Linked DNA regions of Homo sapiens: all the other regions are linked to region 4. The links are contacts of gene promoters, found by promoter capture Hi-C in blood cells and fetal thymus (Javierre and others, 2016). All regions are on one chromosome and are shown on one strand. The core of a region is centred on a gene start or on the middle of the fragment in contact, and the rest is flanking DNA. Distances in the headings are between cores, read along the strand shown. Region 1 overlaps KLHL33 (kelch like family member 33). Region 2 holds the start of RNASE3 (ribonuclease A family member 3). Region 3 has its middle 34 kb from the start of RNASE3. Region 4 holds the start of OR6S1 (olfactory receptor family 6 subfamily S member 1). Region 5 overlaps LOC100507513 (a long non-coding RNA gene).

Region 1 (2,700 bases), core at 110-2,609, 210 kb after region 4:
CTTTAATCTAGTACAGTCCTTCCTCCTTTTTTTTTTTTATTACTTTATATATTGATTGGTAAAGACAATAACATGTAAGATTGGTTACCCTGGGCCAGGCATAGTGGCTCACGCCTGTAATCCCAACACTTTGGGAGGCCGAGGCAGGCAGATCACTTGAGGCCAGGAGTTCAAGGTTAGCCTGTCCAACATGGCGAAACCGTCTCTACTAAAAATACAAAAATTAGCCAGGCATGGTAGCGTGCACCTGTAGTCCCAGCTAATCTGGAAGCTGAGGCACGAGAATCACATGAAGCTGGAGGGTGGAGGTTGCAGTGAGCCGAGATTGTACCACTGCACTCCAGGCAGGGTGACAGAGTAAGACCCTATCTCAAAAAAAAAAAAATTGGTTATCCTATAAAATGCTCCATTTTCTTGATTTGTGTGGTTTTTCCCCTCTAAATTGTTCCTTTAGCCTTTCAACTTCCTATAAACTTGACTTTAGATCTAAAGAGTTGAACAGATTCAAGTTAAATATTTTGGCCAGAATAATCCATAAGTGATGCTGAGTATGAGGTCTAATTGTTTAACAGCGTAGGTTAATAGGACAGTTTCATTGTCATGAGGACCATGCAGATAACCAAGGTATTGGTACACAAGCATGCTTATTGCAGCCTGACATCAGTGGCAGTGGATGGAGATGATCTGCCCACACAGCCACTGCATGGAAATGAAAAATAAATCACATGCTTTCTTTGGGACCCAACTCAGTTTCCACATTTTATTTATTTATTTATTTTGAGATGGAGTCTCGCTCTGTCACCCAGGCTGGGTGCAGCGGCGCAGTCTCAGCTCATTGCAACCCTCGCCTCCCAGGTTCAAGCTATTCTCCTGCCTCAGTCTCCAAGTAGCTGGGATTACAGGCGCCTGCCACCATGCCCGGCTAATGTTTGTATTTTTGGTAGAGATGGAGTTTCACCATGTTGGCCAGGCTGGCCTTGAACTCCTGACCTCAAGTGATCCTACCCACCTCAGCCTCCCAAAGTGCTGGGATTACAGGTGTGTGCCACGACACCCAACCAGTTTCCTTATTTTAAAGGGAATAATTGAATTAGATTATTTTGAAGTTCTCAAGTTTCAGATCTCATGATTCTACAAATTACACCAAGAACAGGAGAGGGTTATGCAGAGAAAAGCTGGGACGCACGGAAAACATTAAACACTAAATCTTAGGCAAGAGGAGACAGCAATCCGATGAGGTTGGATTACAGCCATTCCCGAGTGGTGCCACTTTCCCAGCAAAATCTAACAGAATGGCTGACAGTCTTGGCTCTTGATTGTAAAGAATTTTATTTTGTCACGATATAGACAGACCTATATAAGTTGCTTGTTGGTCATTTCCCATTTATTTTGTGCTCCTCTTAGCAAATGCTTTCCTCTCAACCTGATCCATGAAGACTCTTTTTCTGACTCATCTGACCAAAAAGACTAAAGCAATGTTTATCTAAGTGTCTTCAGGCCACTAACATGAGAATCACATAGGGTTACTTGAAGTGTTACAATACAAATTTCTAGGGTCTCCGTCCAGAACTGCTGAATCAGAATCTCTGGGAGTGGACTGCTGAAACCTGCATTTTAACAACTACCCCATGGTATTCTGATGCACACCACAGTTTGGTCTGTAGCAGTGGGTGGCTTGGAGGGCCAAACTTAGAGTTTGGCCAAACTTAGAGTACCAAGTTGGGGTAATGCCTATCGGTCTTGCAATACTTTGAGTCCTCCTCTATTCCTTCTCCCCTCCTGCAGTGCACCGAGCCGCCCTGGCCTGTGGCAGTGAGTTCTTTGGGGCCATGCTCCTGAGCGGGATGAGGGAATCCCAGGGCACAGAGGTATCTCTGCGGACGATCTCCACCCAGGACCTGCGACTCCTCGTCTCTTTTGCTTACTCCGGAGTTGTGCGGGCAAGGTGGCCAGGGCTACTGAGAGCTGCCCAGGCTGCTCTGCAGTACCAGAGCTCTTCCTGCTTGGATTTGTGTCAGAAAGGCTTGGCACGGGGCCTCAGCCCTGCCCGTTGCCTGGCCCTGTTCCCCATGGCGGAAGCCCCTGGGTTGGAGAGGCTCTGGAGCAAAGCCCGTCACTACCTCCTCACCCACCTGCCTGCTGTAGCCTTGTGTCCTGCTTTCCCTTCTTTACCAGCTGCCTGCTTGGCTGAGCTCCTGGATAGTGATGAGCTCCATGTGCAGGAGGAGTTTGAGGCCTTTGTGGCTGCACGGTGTTGGCTGGCTGCCAACCCCGAGACCCAGGAGTCAGAGGCCAAGGCCCTGCTGCGATGTGTCCGCTTTGGCCGCATGTCCACCAGGGAGTTGCGGAGGGTGCGGGCAGCCGGGCTACTTCCACCCCTGACCCCAGATCTGTTGCACCAGCTGATGGTAGAGGCTGATGTTCCAGGCCAAGAGAGACGGAGGGAGCCTGACCGGGCACTGGTAGTGATTGGCGGGGATGGGCTCAGACCAGACATGGCCCTAAGACAACCATCCCGAGCAGTGTGGTGGGCCCGGGCCTTCCGCTGTGGCGTGGGACTGGTACGAACTGTTGAGTGGGGGCAGCTGCCTGCCCTGCCTGCCCCCGGACGCTTCCGGCATGGGGCTGCAAGCCTGGCAGGAAGTGAACTCTATGTGTGTGGGGGACAAGATTTCTACAGTCACTCCAACACCCTGGCTT
Region 2 (2,709 bases), core at 1-2,500, 250 kb before region 4:
GTGGAGATCTATACACAAGTTATAGGTTGGTGTTGGGGGAGGAGTCAGTGGATGGAAAATTGCTTAGAGGAGATATTAAGGCTAGGGAGACCAATGCTAAGTTGACTCAATTGGATTTTTTTTTAAGGCAGGCCTGGAATCAGGTATCACATGAAGGATGATGGGGGAATTAAGGAATTTGGTCAGATATTGAGGGGGAGAGATTCATGATAAACCCAAATCTCTAGAGCAGATTGTCACTAAATGACAGCAGAGCGGCCGAGGAAGACACACAGACACTTCCAGATGAATTTGCAAAGCAGTTTATTGCAGGGTTCACAAGGGACTTCAGCTCAGGAAAGCTGAAGGGGTATGGAGACTGATGAGGACAGTTGCTGATACCCAGAGTACATGGAGGGATGGGATCTTGGCTATGATTGAGGAGCTTGGCAGATGAGTGATGATGAGGACTGCTGATACAGGAGCTTAGATGGTGGTATCCAGGTGAACTGGAACCACAGGATACCGTGGAGAATCCCGTGGATCTCTGTTGTCACATGCAACTACATAGAACCTCCTTCCTGGTCTGTCTGCATACGTGCAGTTTGAAATATTCTGTGCACCTGGATTTATGAGGTCACAGTGGAGTAAAGGCACCCGGAATCTACTCCGATGACAATTGTTGAGAGTTCTGTTATGAGGGCAGCGTATACTTTGGTTACCACAAACATTAACTACATTAGCAAAAGTTGTACGAAGAAAAGTATTTTGGTTTTTGCAACGCCATCGATAATTGTTAATTGCCCGCATTGCAATGGTGCATCGAGGGGGGTTCAGACTGATGTGCTGGATGGCAAACCACTGAGCCCTCGTAAACTGTGGGGGTCTGGCATGGAGTGAGCCCTCCACACCCATAAGCCCCAACAGAAGAAGCAGACAAATTTGGGAAGTGAACAGTTTTGGAACCATGTTTCCTGTAAGAAAAGAAGAGAAGTAACTACTCCCCGATCCGGTCTCGGTTATGACACACTCTATAGTGTCTCAACCCACAGGCCCCTCTGCTGCCACTCTGGGGTCGCATTTCCTTTTCTTCCTGTCCCCAAAGTGTGCCACATCTCCTAAGCACTAACTTCAGCTCACCTCTCCCTCAGGTGCTGCCCTGTCGCTGCCCCTCCTGTCCCAGCTCTGGGGATTGTTGACTTACCCAGTCTCTGAGCTGTGGCTCCTGTGAGAACTGATCCAGCTGGTTGTTCTGGGGTTCAGGGGCAGCTGGTCTCCCCTACTTGGAACTGTTTAAATAAAGCTTCCCTTGGTGGGTCTGGCCATGCAGAAACCCACAGATTGACACATGGTCCACTTGTGCAATCATCCTTTTTATTTGATGACTTGGCTGAGCAACGGATACCCAAGGACAGCCCTGCTGCTCTTTCTGCTATACGGACTCTAATTCCAAGTCATCCTGTGTTAGACAGAGTTTTGCCGGTGGGATCTGGACTCTGGGTGAAAACTATACGCTGCCGGCAGAATGACCACAGATTTTATAACTGTCCTCTGGCAGGCCCCTAAATGACTAAATGACACGAAGGCAGGCATAGTAGTTAGGAGAAATAGAGCCACAGAGGGCTGTTTGCCCAGGAGAAACCCAGCTTCCCTTCCATTTTTAGTAATATCCTTGGTTCTCTCTCACATAAATGCTCTCCATCTCATCCACCACTCTTGCTGGAAACTTGAGCTATTAATTTCTTGGGGCACAAGATTCTGTAGATAATTAAAACAATCTGCTCCATACAATTGAGGAATTTTTTTCTTTACTCCTCTTGCATTGGATCCACTTTCTCTTAAGTCTTGCCCTGATTATTGATTCCACTTTGTGTAAAGTTACATAACCTAAAAACACACCGAGGACAGTTGTAAAATCTGGCAGAGGATGAATGAACATTTGGTGTCATGAAAGATTCCAACCTAGCACTCGGTATTCCTGTGATCTTTTCAGCCTATGGTATTTTCTACAAAACAGTGTGTTCTGGGGTTGTCATTCATCTTCCTGGTAAGTTTCATTTTGTGATATTAACAAGAATATGGTTCTGTATTTACAAATGAACATTTAAGGACAGAGCACTGTATTCCTGAAAGTATAGAGGTCAAGTGTACAGTTTGATACACAAAGCATACATTTATTCTTGGCCCTCAGAGAAACACAGGAAAGTACTTGTAGACATATAATTGTATTACAGTGTGATAGAGGTAATAGCATTTGTGTGAACATGGTGTCATAGGGACACTGCTGGTGAAGGAAATCACTTGGCTTGAGAAATAAGGAAAACTTCAAAAAAAAGTTTATTTCAGCAGGTCCTAAAGGATAAGCAGGGGATTTTCAGGGGATTTAGAGAAGAGATGAGCATTCTGGGCACAGGGGATGATGTGGGGAAATTGTACAGAGGTGAGAAGTGAATTGCAAAGGTAAGGCCTGGGTACTAACAGATGTTAAATCTGGTCTAGCTTTGAGATTAGAAAATGGAAAGTAGACCCTTAAATGATATAATATACCTTCCAACAGTTAATCTGCCTAATTTTTACTACCGTCCAATTTTCCTGTCATTTAGAAATGCAATAATTTTATCACTGGGGTCCTTAGGTAAATGTGGACACAATGGTGACCTGGTGAGGACTCAATGCGCAGCTAATATTGCTCTGCCTTGAAGTCCTGTTCTGGCCGACATTCATTAGCAG
Region 3 (2,730 bases), core at 170-2,669, 220 kb before region 4:
GAAGTCAAGTAAAATAATAATTAATGTGTACAACTATATCCTAGGCTTAACCTCAAACCTGTGTAGCTAAATGGGAGAGTTAAGAGAAGGGAGAAAAGGTGAAAATCGTACTGTGTTAGCATCCGGCCACCAAATAGAGGCAAATAAAGGAGATACTTGCTTTTTAATCCTGGTGCCAAGGTCTCTGGATAGAAAAGGCTGGTGTAAGTCAGGTGTTGTGGGAGGAATTTGCCTCTGAGGGATGGACAGTGGTTCACATGGCCAGATCAGGCAGCAGATGTGTGCCGATGCTGGCGAAGCCTTCGTCCTTACAAGAGACAAGTCAAAGAGACCCGAAGTAATGAAGAGAATGCAGAGGGTGGAGCCTCCAGCAAGCACGAGTTGAGGAGTAGTCTGGGGTTGTGAAGATGGGTATTTTTACAAAAGCAACCACATTTGAATTTGTATCTTTGATGAGAATTTTTGCACACTGAGTCTTGATGTCCTCAAAAAAGAAAATACAATAATAGGAGAGCGCCCCCTGCCGGCAAGCAGTGAGCTAGGCATCTCTACCTCTGAGCCTGATTGACCCGGCTCCCCTTCCTCGGTTTAGAAGGTGCACAGAAACCTTAGCTGAGCTGCTTCTGTTTCATTCTTGAGGGCGTGGGGGTTTTCATGGCGGTCCGGATCTTCTGTGCCTGGAGTCAGCCTAGGTTCACCATGCTGCCTCTCCTCTGCATTTTTCCTCCCCTCCAACTTCGCCCTCAGTCTCTCTCCAATCTCAACTTTGCCACACTTTTCAAGAGGCAATTTATTTTCACCAAATTTCAGGGTTCTCAAAAGACAGTAAGATTAAGTTTGGCTTCATACACTTCCTCCTTTCCATTCTGCAGATATCCTAAGGAATTGCAAAAGGGTCTGGCTCTCTGCTTGGAACTAGAGGCATGAGGAAAATACAAAGAGAAGAAAGAAAAAGTAGTATCTCAGCAAACTATCCTGCCTCACATATGTTCTTTAATTTTCTTGCTGGAAAATCTCTGGGCCCTGTCTCTATGCTCTTTCCATCTCAGGGTCCAGAATAGGGAGAATATGAAATTATATCCATGTGGGTGTAATATCAAATTTACCTTGAACCCCAGTATTAGATCCTGACTTGCAAAGACAATCTCTGAAAAGGTAAAGGGGTCTGTATGTTGGGCGCCTCAGTTGCTCTTTCCTGGCCTAACTTAAAGAAGGGCTTTGAAGTGTGTGTGGTGTGTGTGTGTGTGAGAGAGAGAGAGAGAGAGAGAGAGAGAAAGAGAGAACCTTAACTGGGAAAGGGGCTGATTTTTTTGATGATTATCTCTTCCTCAGTCTCAATGTGGATGGGGAAATTTCCACTGTGTGGTAGCATTCGTGAGAACCACCCTTTCTACTCATTGCCAAAAGTTAGAAGTTATTGTTGTACAGATTTTTGTTAGTTGGGAAACAAGATAATTCTATAAAAATGTGGAATATTTCTATTAGAATCATTTAAAAAACAAATGCCCTTAGACTGTGTCTTTTTGCTCTCACTACTATGTGTGATCATGAATTCACAAACACTCCTGATTTTTCTGAAGTAGTGGTCTACAAACTCTAACATAAACCAGGATCTCCTGGATTAGCATTCTCTAATAAGCTGGAAGTTTATTAGGTAAAAACACAAAAATACGTGAGGCCTACTACTAATAATACAAGTCAGAGTATCTCCAGATTATTGACTCTGGGATGTCCAAGTCAGTACACATTGTTGAAGACAGAAACACACTTGTGCTACAATAAAATGTGAGCCATGTAATACAATAGATTAGGGGCCAGCCTGGCCAATATAGCAAAACCCCATCTCTACTAAAAATACAAAAAATTAGCCGGGTGTGGTGGCGCATGCCTGTAATCCCAGCTACTCAGGAGGCTGAGGCAGGAGAATCGCTTAAACCTGGGAGGCGAAGGTTGCAGTGAGCCAAGATCGCGCCACTGCACTCTAGTCTGGGTGACAGAGTGAGACTCCATCTCAAAAAAAAAAAAATAGATTAGGGGATATGAAATATCTGAAAGGAAGAAAAGGAGCCAAGAAAAGGAAAGGAGGAAAGAAGAATACAAGGGGATACAAACAATAAGCACATGAGAAGATGAAGTTTCCAGTGTGGCAGATACTCTCTTCCTTCCCTAATGCCTGGAATCTGGCTGTGCGTGGAGAAAGATGAAAGGCTCTGTCTAGTGAGTCCACTGGACTAGAAGCTCCCTGGGACTAGGTTATGTGTTTTGCATCTCCAGTACCTAGCGGTCTGCCTGGCACAGAGTCTATGCTCAGAAAGTGTTTCATTGATGAATGGAGAGACAGGTAGTACATTAGCATGCTGAGTTTGCAAAAAGTCATTAAATGTGTAAATTAGAATGTTCTACCAATTATATGTTATACTACCCTCTGTTCTATATCTCAGTGATCGTCTGTCTGAATTTCCCGCTTTGAACACTAGATGTCCTCTGGGACTGACACCATGACCAGACCCTAGCGATTCAAATCTCTCACCAGCGCTCTCCTGCTGAGGGCTGGGTCCTGTTTCAGAACTTCTGTCAATGGACTGCTCACTGAAACATTACCCTGGCTCCCACGTGACTTATAGCGTTAGCCAGTGCTTGAAACCTACTCCCCCACTGGGTTGGTTCTTCTAGAATTCTGATATTAGCCTCAATCTACTAGGCATTTTACTTTGGACTGCTGACCATCCA
Region 4 (2,700 bases), core at 112-2,611:
TCCCATAATCTTTCTGTAGCTGCAGGCATACTCCCATTCAGCTTCCCTATCTTAGTGCACCTGAAGGGAAAGAAAGGTGCTTATTAAGGCCCATCGTTTTACTGGGGCCCATTGTATGATGGTGAAGTTTGGCGGTTACCCAAAAGAATTTCCCCTCACCTCCCTCTGTGCCCGAGCTGTCTTATCTGTGTTTTACTGTCTGCTCTTTCTGGCTGCCTGTAGTTAGAAGAGAAGTGATTTCTTTGAAATGCATGAGGCTAGAAAGGGAGCTGAAACTTAAAGTGGCAGTGTTTGTCCAAGACGATGGTGCTCCTGCTCTGTCAAAAGGGAGTAAGGATTCTCCTGATACCTGAGGCATTTTTAAACAAGCTTTCTGGATATAATGGACTTGATTTTTCTAACTGGTGGTGGTCCTCAGAACTGGGAGGACTTGAAGCAAAGAATAAGAATCAAAGAATAAGAACATAATTTTTTATTAATAGTTGCGGTCAGAAATTCATAATTTTGGCTCTGACAAACATCTGACGGGGTTTCACCATGTTGGCCAGGCTTGTCTCAAACTCCTGGCCTCAAGTGATCCGCCCGCCTCGGTCTCCCAAAAGCTGGGATTACAGGCATGAGCCACTGCGTCCTGCCGGAAAGGGTAATTTTATATAATTTCATTAGGTATACTAATGGCCTAGATTCCTGTGACTCATTGTACAGTTGGACAGTTAAAGTACAAATTGATAATCTTCCAAGAGTAATGGCAAGCCAAGCCTAGATTCTGGTGTCCTAACTTATAGCCAGGGGCTTTCTCTGCCATATAATTTTTAAGTTAAGTACTAGACACTCTTAAATTCTTTGCACTATTATATCATTTGCTCCTTACAGCATTTCACAACTGAGGAGCACAGAGAGGGTAAGTAACCTTACCAAGGCTACTCAGCCAGTAAGTGGAGATGCAGGAATTTAAAACTAGGTAGTCTGACTCAAGTTCTGATCCCAGTTGAATGGTAATCATATTCTTCACAAAATCCTTTTTCAGATATTTTTGCCCAACTCAGATGCTCAGTGATATTGTTATTACAATAATGAGGTGTCATTATTTAAGATCTGAGAACAGGATATGTGAAGATGGAGGAGATGGAGGCTCCTGGCATTTTCATACCTAAGTTTTGTTACCCTTTAGAGAAAATCTTCTCTAGTGCTAAAATCAATCAGATGATGACCTTAAGTGCTTCAGATCTTAACAGGACCTGCAATTGGATAAACTGGGGATATGAGTCCCATATCATGATGAAGTAAGTTTCAGGACTGTAAGCAGAGGACCTGCTCTTACCAGGATCATGTTTTTGTTGTTGGACAGGTGAAAAAGACAATGAGTCCTGATGGGAACCACAGTAGTGATCCAACAGAGTTCGTCCTGGCAGGGCTCCCAAATCTCAACAGCGCAAGAGTGGAATTATTTTCTGTGTTTCTTCTTGTCTATCTCCTGAATCTGACAGGCAATGTGTTGATTGTGGGGGTGGTAAGGGCTGATACTCGACTACAGACCCCTATGTACTTCTTTCTGGGTAACCTGTCCTGCCTAGAGATACTGCTCACTTCTGTCATCATTCCAAAGATGCTGAGCAATTTCCTCTCAAGGCAACACACTATTTCCTTTGCTGCATGTATCACCCAATTCTATTTCTACTTCTTTCTCGGGGCCTCCGAGTTCTTACTGTTGGCTGTCATGTCTGCGGATCGCTACCTGGCCATCTGTCATCCTCTGCGCTACCCCTTGCTCATGAGTGGGGCTGTGTGCTTTCGTGTGGCCTTGGCCTGCTGGGTGGGGGGACTCGTCCCTGTGCTTGGTCCCACAGTGGCTGTGGCCTTGCTTCCTTTCTGTAAGCAGGGTGCTGTGGTACAGCACTTCTTCTGCGACAGTGGCCCACTGCTCCGCCTGGCTTGCACCAACACCAAGAAGCTGGAGGAGACTGACTTTGTCCTGGCCTCCCTCGTCATTGTATCTTCCTTGCTGATCACTGCTGTGTCCTACGGCCTCATTGTGCTGGCAGTCCTGAGCATCCCCTCTGCTTCAGGCCGTCAGAAGGCCTTCTCTACCTGTACCTCCCACTTGATAGTGGTGACCCTCTTCTATGGAAGTGCCATTTTTCTCTATGTGCGGCCATCGCAGAGTGGTTCTGTGGACACTAACTGGGCAGTGACAGTAATAACGACATTTGTGACACCACTGTTGAATCCATTCATCTATGCCTTACGTAATGAGCAAGTCAAGGAAGCTTTGAAGGACATGTTTAGGAAGGTAGTGGCAGGCGTTTTAGGGAATCTTTTACTTGATAAATGTCTCAGTGAGAAAGCAGTAAAGTAAAAGTGAAGAGTCTAGTAACTAGTCTTTTTTTTTTTTTTTTTTTTTTTTTTTTGAGAGAGAGAGAGAGAAAGTCTCACTCTGTCGCCCAGGCTGGAGTGCAGTGGCGCGATCTCAGCTCACTGCAACCTCCACCTCCTGGGTTTAAGCAATTCTCCTGCCTCAGCCTCCTGAGTAGCTGGGATTACATGTGCCCACCACCACACCTGGCTAATTTTTGTATTTTTAGTAGAGATGGGGTTTCACTCGATGACCAGGCTAGTCTCAAACTCCTGGCATCAAGTGATCCACCCACCTCAGCCTCCCGAAGTGCTGGGATTACAGGTGTGAGCCACCACACCTGGTCT
Region 5 (2,700 bases), core at 97-2,596, 230 kb before region 4:
TTGCACCCTACGCCTTCAAATCTGTGCAGCACTGTCAAGGTCTTCTTTGTAAATGCTTCGTCCTTTGCACGCAGGCTCCTGCGTCTTTCTTACAGCCTGTTCCCCACCAACCCCATGTGCCCTACCCCTGCCACAGTGTCAGGGCTTTTGGTGGAGGATAAGGCTGCAGTGGAGGGTTGGTGGGAGGGAGCCTGAATTACGGAAATAATACTCGGGAAAAGACTTGCTCCAACCAAGCTGCTAGACAATCCCCTTCTCCTGGGGCTGATCTTCCCACCAGCTGCTCTCATAAAACCTCCTGATGGCTGGCCCTAGGTTTCCTGGATCATAGGGTCCTTCTGCCTTCTGCGGGACATTCTATGCCTTTCTCCTCAATGGGCTCCTTCGGAGGGTATTAGGGACGATACCCTGGCGGGAAACCGCTTCCTTTAGGGAAACAAATCACTGTGGCTCCAGGGGTGTCACCGGAAAAAGCCGTTTCCGGAGAAGCCGGAGGAGCTTGGGCAACTCCGCAGGCCCAGAGCCTTCGTGGTCTCCCAGTTCCCGTGGCCGTCGTATTGGTCGGCAGGGGGCGCCGCGCCACAAGCTTCCTGCACAAGAGTCCAAAACTTCTTTCTTGGTTTCCTTTGAGACAGGCTGCAGGTTTCTTGGTTGCTGACACGGGTAGACGATAATAGGTGAATAAACAAAATCCAGCCAGCATAAATACAGTCTAACTGTTGAAGAACAGATTTCTGAGTCTACCATAACTTTCATACACTGCAGCACTTTAACGTTGAACCTGCCACCTTCAGATTCACACTGCAGCACCTCAGGTAAGAAGGAAAGGAAGTGAATATGCACTGAGGACCTACTTGTGTTATGAGCTTTACAGTTCAGCTGCGCTGGAGAAGAGTTTATTTCTTTCATGGAATCCATTACATCACCGATCCCCTTCTGAAGGAGGTTATTTTATCCACGAGAGGAAGCATCCAAAGGTGTTCATATTCTCTACCCTGTGACTCCAGCAGAATGGTGACAAGGTTTTGAAGCAAAGGAGGGCACTTGACTCTAGGGCAGCCGTCCATTAACTGACTAGCCCGGTGCCTGTGGAACAGAGTTGCGTGAGGATTTTACCCTTTTGGAATAATCCAGTGACAAAACTGGATACTATTACTTTCATTCCTTCCCCCGATGCCAGGAGGTATAGCTGTTTTGCCTTTGTTCTTGACATTCAGCACTTAGCCTAATGCTCGCTATAAAAGTGCCTTCAAGAAATCTTTAAGGGGCCATTTTGGTAGGTCTGGTTGTTGCTGTGGATCTTTTGTAGATGCCCATTTTTAGATTAGAAAAGTTTCTTCCCTTCTGCTCCTGTTTATGTCTCTTGAATGGATTGGGAATTTCGTTGAATGATGGGATTATACAGCATATTTCTTTAATCAGTTAATGGGGTGAATTAGATTAGTTGATTTTAGAATACTAAACCAACCTTGTATTCCTGGGATAAACCCATTTTGGTTATGTGATATAATCTTTTTTATATATGACTAAATTTAATTTGCTAATATTTTGTTAAATTTTTTTTGCATTTATGTTCACGAATGAGATTGGTCTGTAATTTTTTGTATTGCCTTGTTTAATTTTGGTATCTAGGTTATATGTTAGCTTCCAGAAATGAATTGGGGAGTAGTCCTTCTTTATTTTGTAACTGGAATTATATGTTATTTTAATACTTGGTAGAACTCACATGTAAGGCTGTTTGGTCCTGATATTTTCTTATTTTCTTTGAGACTGCTTTTTCTTTTTTCTTTTCCTTTTTTTTTTTTTTTGGAGATGGGTCTTCCTATGTTGCCCAGGCTAGTGTGCAGTGGCTATTCACAGGTGCAATCACAGAGCATACCTCGAATTACTGGTCTCAACTGATCCTTGAACACTCGGTCTCAGGTGCCTCAAACTCCTGGGCTTGAACTCCTGATCTCGAATAATCCTGCTGCCTCAGCCTCCAGAGTAGCTGGGTCTACAGGTACACACCACCAGGCTTAGCCTCAAACTATTTTAAACTTCTGTTTCAATTTCCTTAATGGTTAAAGAGATGCTAACTTTTCCATTTCTTCTTGAGAAAGCTTTGGTAGATTGTTTTTTCCCACGTAGGAATTTATCCATTTCGTCTAAAGTTCCCAAATATATTAGCACAAAGTTATTCATAATCTGTTTAATATTTATAGCATTGATTTTATGTCCTATTTTTATTCTGACTTTTTTGTACCTTTTTTATTGATAAAACTTTTGAGGTGTGTCTCTCTTATTAGACAGAGATTTTTTCAGACATGCAGAAGCGAGTACTTATAAACTCATGTAGAAACTTTTTTAGAATGGGTCCGTCTTTTTTTTTGAGATTGAGTCTCACTCAGTCACCCAGGCTGGAGTGCAGTGGCACAATCTCGGTTCACTGCAACCTTCGGTTCCTGGGTTCAAGCAACTCTCCTTCCTCAGCCTCCTGAGTAGCTGGGATTACAGGCATGCGCCACCACACCCAGCTAATTTTTGTATTTTTAGTAGAGACAGGGTTTCACCATGTTGGCCAGGCTGGTCTTGAATTCCTTACCTCAGGTGATCTGCCCTCCTCAGCCTCCCAAAGTGCTGGGATTACAGGTGTGAGCCACCGTGCCTGGCCAGGTCCACCTCTTGAGCCACACAGATCTGCTTCCCCAGACAGGTTCA

The links. Contacts are between HindIII fragments. The CHiCAGO score rates a contact against its expected background, and 5 or more counts as called.
Region 1: a contact is called between a fragment that was not itself captured here and the fragment with the promoter of OR6S1 in region 4, in 1 of 17 cell types (naive B cells). The highest score is 6.7, in naive B cells.
Region 2: a contact is called between the fragment with the promoter of RNASE3 here and the fragment with the promoter of OR6S1 in region 4, in 12 of 17 cell types (M2 macrophages, total B cells, M0 macrophages and 9 more). The highest score is 11.8, in M2 macrophages.
Region 3: a contact is called between a fragment that was not itself captured here and the fragment with the promoter of OR6S1 in region 4, in 8 of 17 cell types (naive B cells, total B cells, M2 macrophages and 5 more). The highest score is 10.2, in naive B cells.
Region 5: a fragment that was not itself captured here is called in contact with the fragment with the promoter of OR6S1 in region 4 in 11 of 17 cell types (naive B cells, erythroblasts, total B cells and 8 more); the score reaches 12.8 in naive B cells.

What each region holds. Positions count from the first base shown.
Region 1 is chr14:20,429,805-20,432,504 of GRCh38, reverse strand. It overlaps KLHL33 (kelch like family member 33), which reads left to right. Exons shown (of 5, transcript NM_001365790.2): 3 at 1,786-2,700. Among named protein-coding and RNA genes, the nearest start is that of KLHL33, 5.0 kb to the left of the region's middle. The HindIII fragment of the contact is 2,721 bases long and covers 1-2,700 here.
Region 2 is chr14:20,889,926-20,892,634 of GRCh38, reverse strand. RNASE3 (ribonuclease A family member 3) reads right to left here and starts at 1,250. Exons shown (of 2, transcript NM_002935.3): 1 at 1,184-1,250; 2 at 287-953. The coding sequence starts at 948. The coding sequence ends at 466. All of the region lies in intron 1 of LOC100507513 (a long non-coding RNA gene), which reads left to right. The HindIII fragment of the contact is 4,045 bases long and covers 1-1,284 here.
Region 3 is chr14:20,855,621-20,858,350 of GRCh38, reverse strand. No RefSeq gene overlaps it. Among named protein-coding and RNA genes, the nearest start is that of RNASE3, 34 kb to the left of the region's middle. The HindIII fragment of the contact is 4,704 bases long and covers 1-2,730 here.
Region 4 is chr14:20,640,352-20,643,051 of GRCh38, reverse strand. It overlaps OR6S1 (olfactory receptor family 6 subfamily S member 1), which reads left to right and starts at 1,361. Exons shown (of 1, transcript NM_001001968.1): 1 at 1,361-2,356. The coding sequence starts at 1,361. The coding sequence ends at 2,356. RefSeq lists an enhancer at 1-424. The HindIII fragment of the contact is 1,898 bases long and covers 372-2,269 here.
Region 5 is chr14:20,871,674-20,874,373 of GRCh38, reverse strand. It overlaps LOC100507513 (a long non-coding RNA gene), which reads left to right. Exons shown (of 4, transcript XR_110261.4): 3 at 1-815. Among named protein-coding and RNA genes, the nearest start is that of RNASE3, 18 kb to the left of the region's middle. RefSeq lists enhancers at 323-372, 483-582. The HindIII fragment of the contact is 1,516 bases long and covers 589-2,104 here.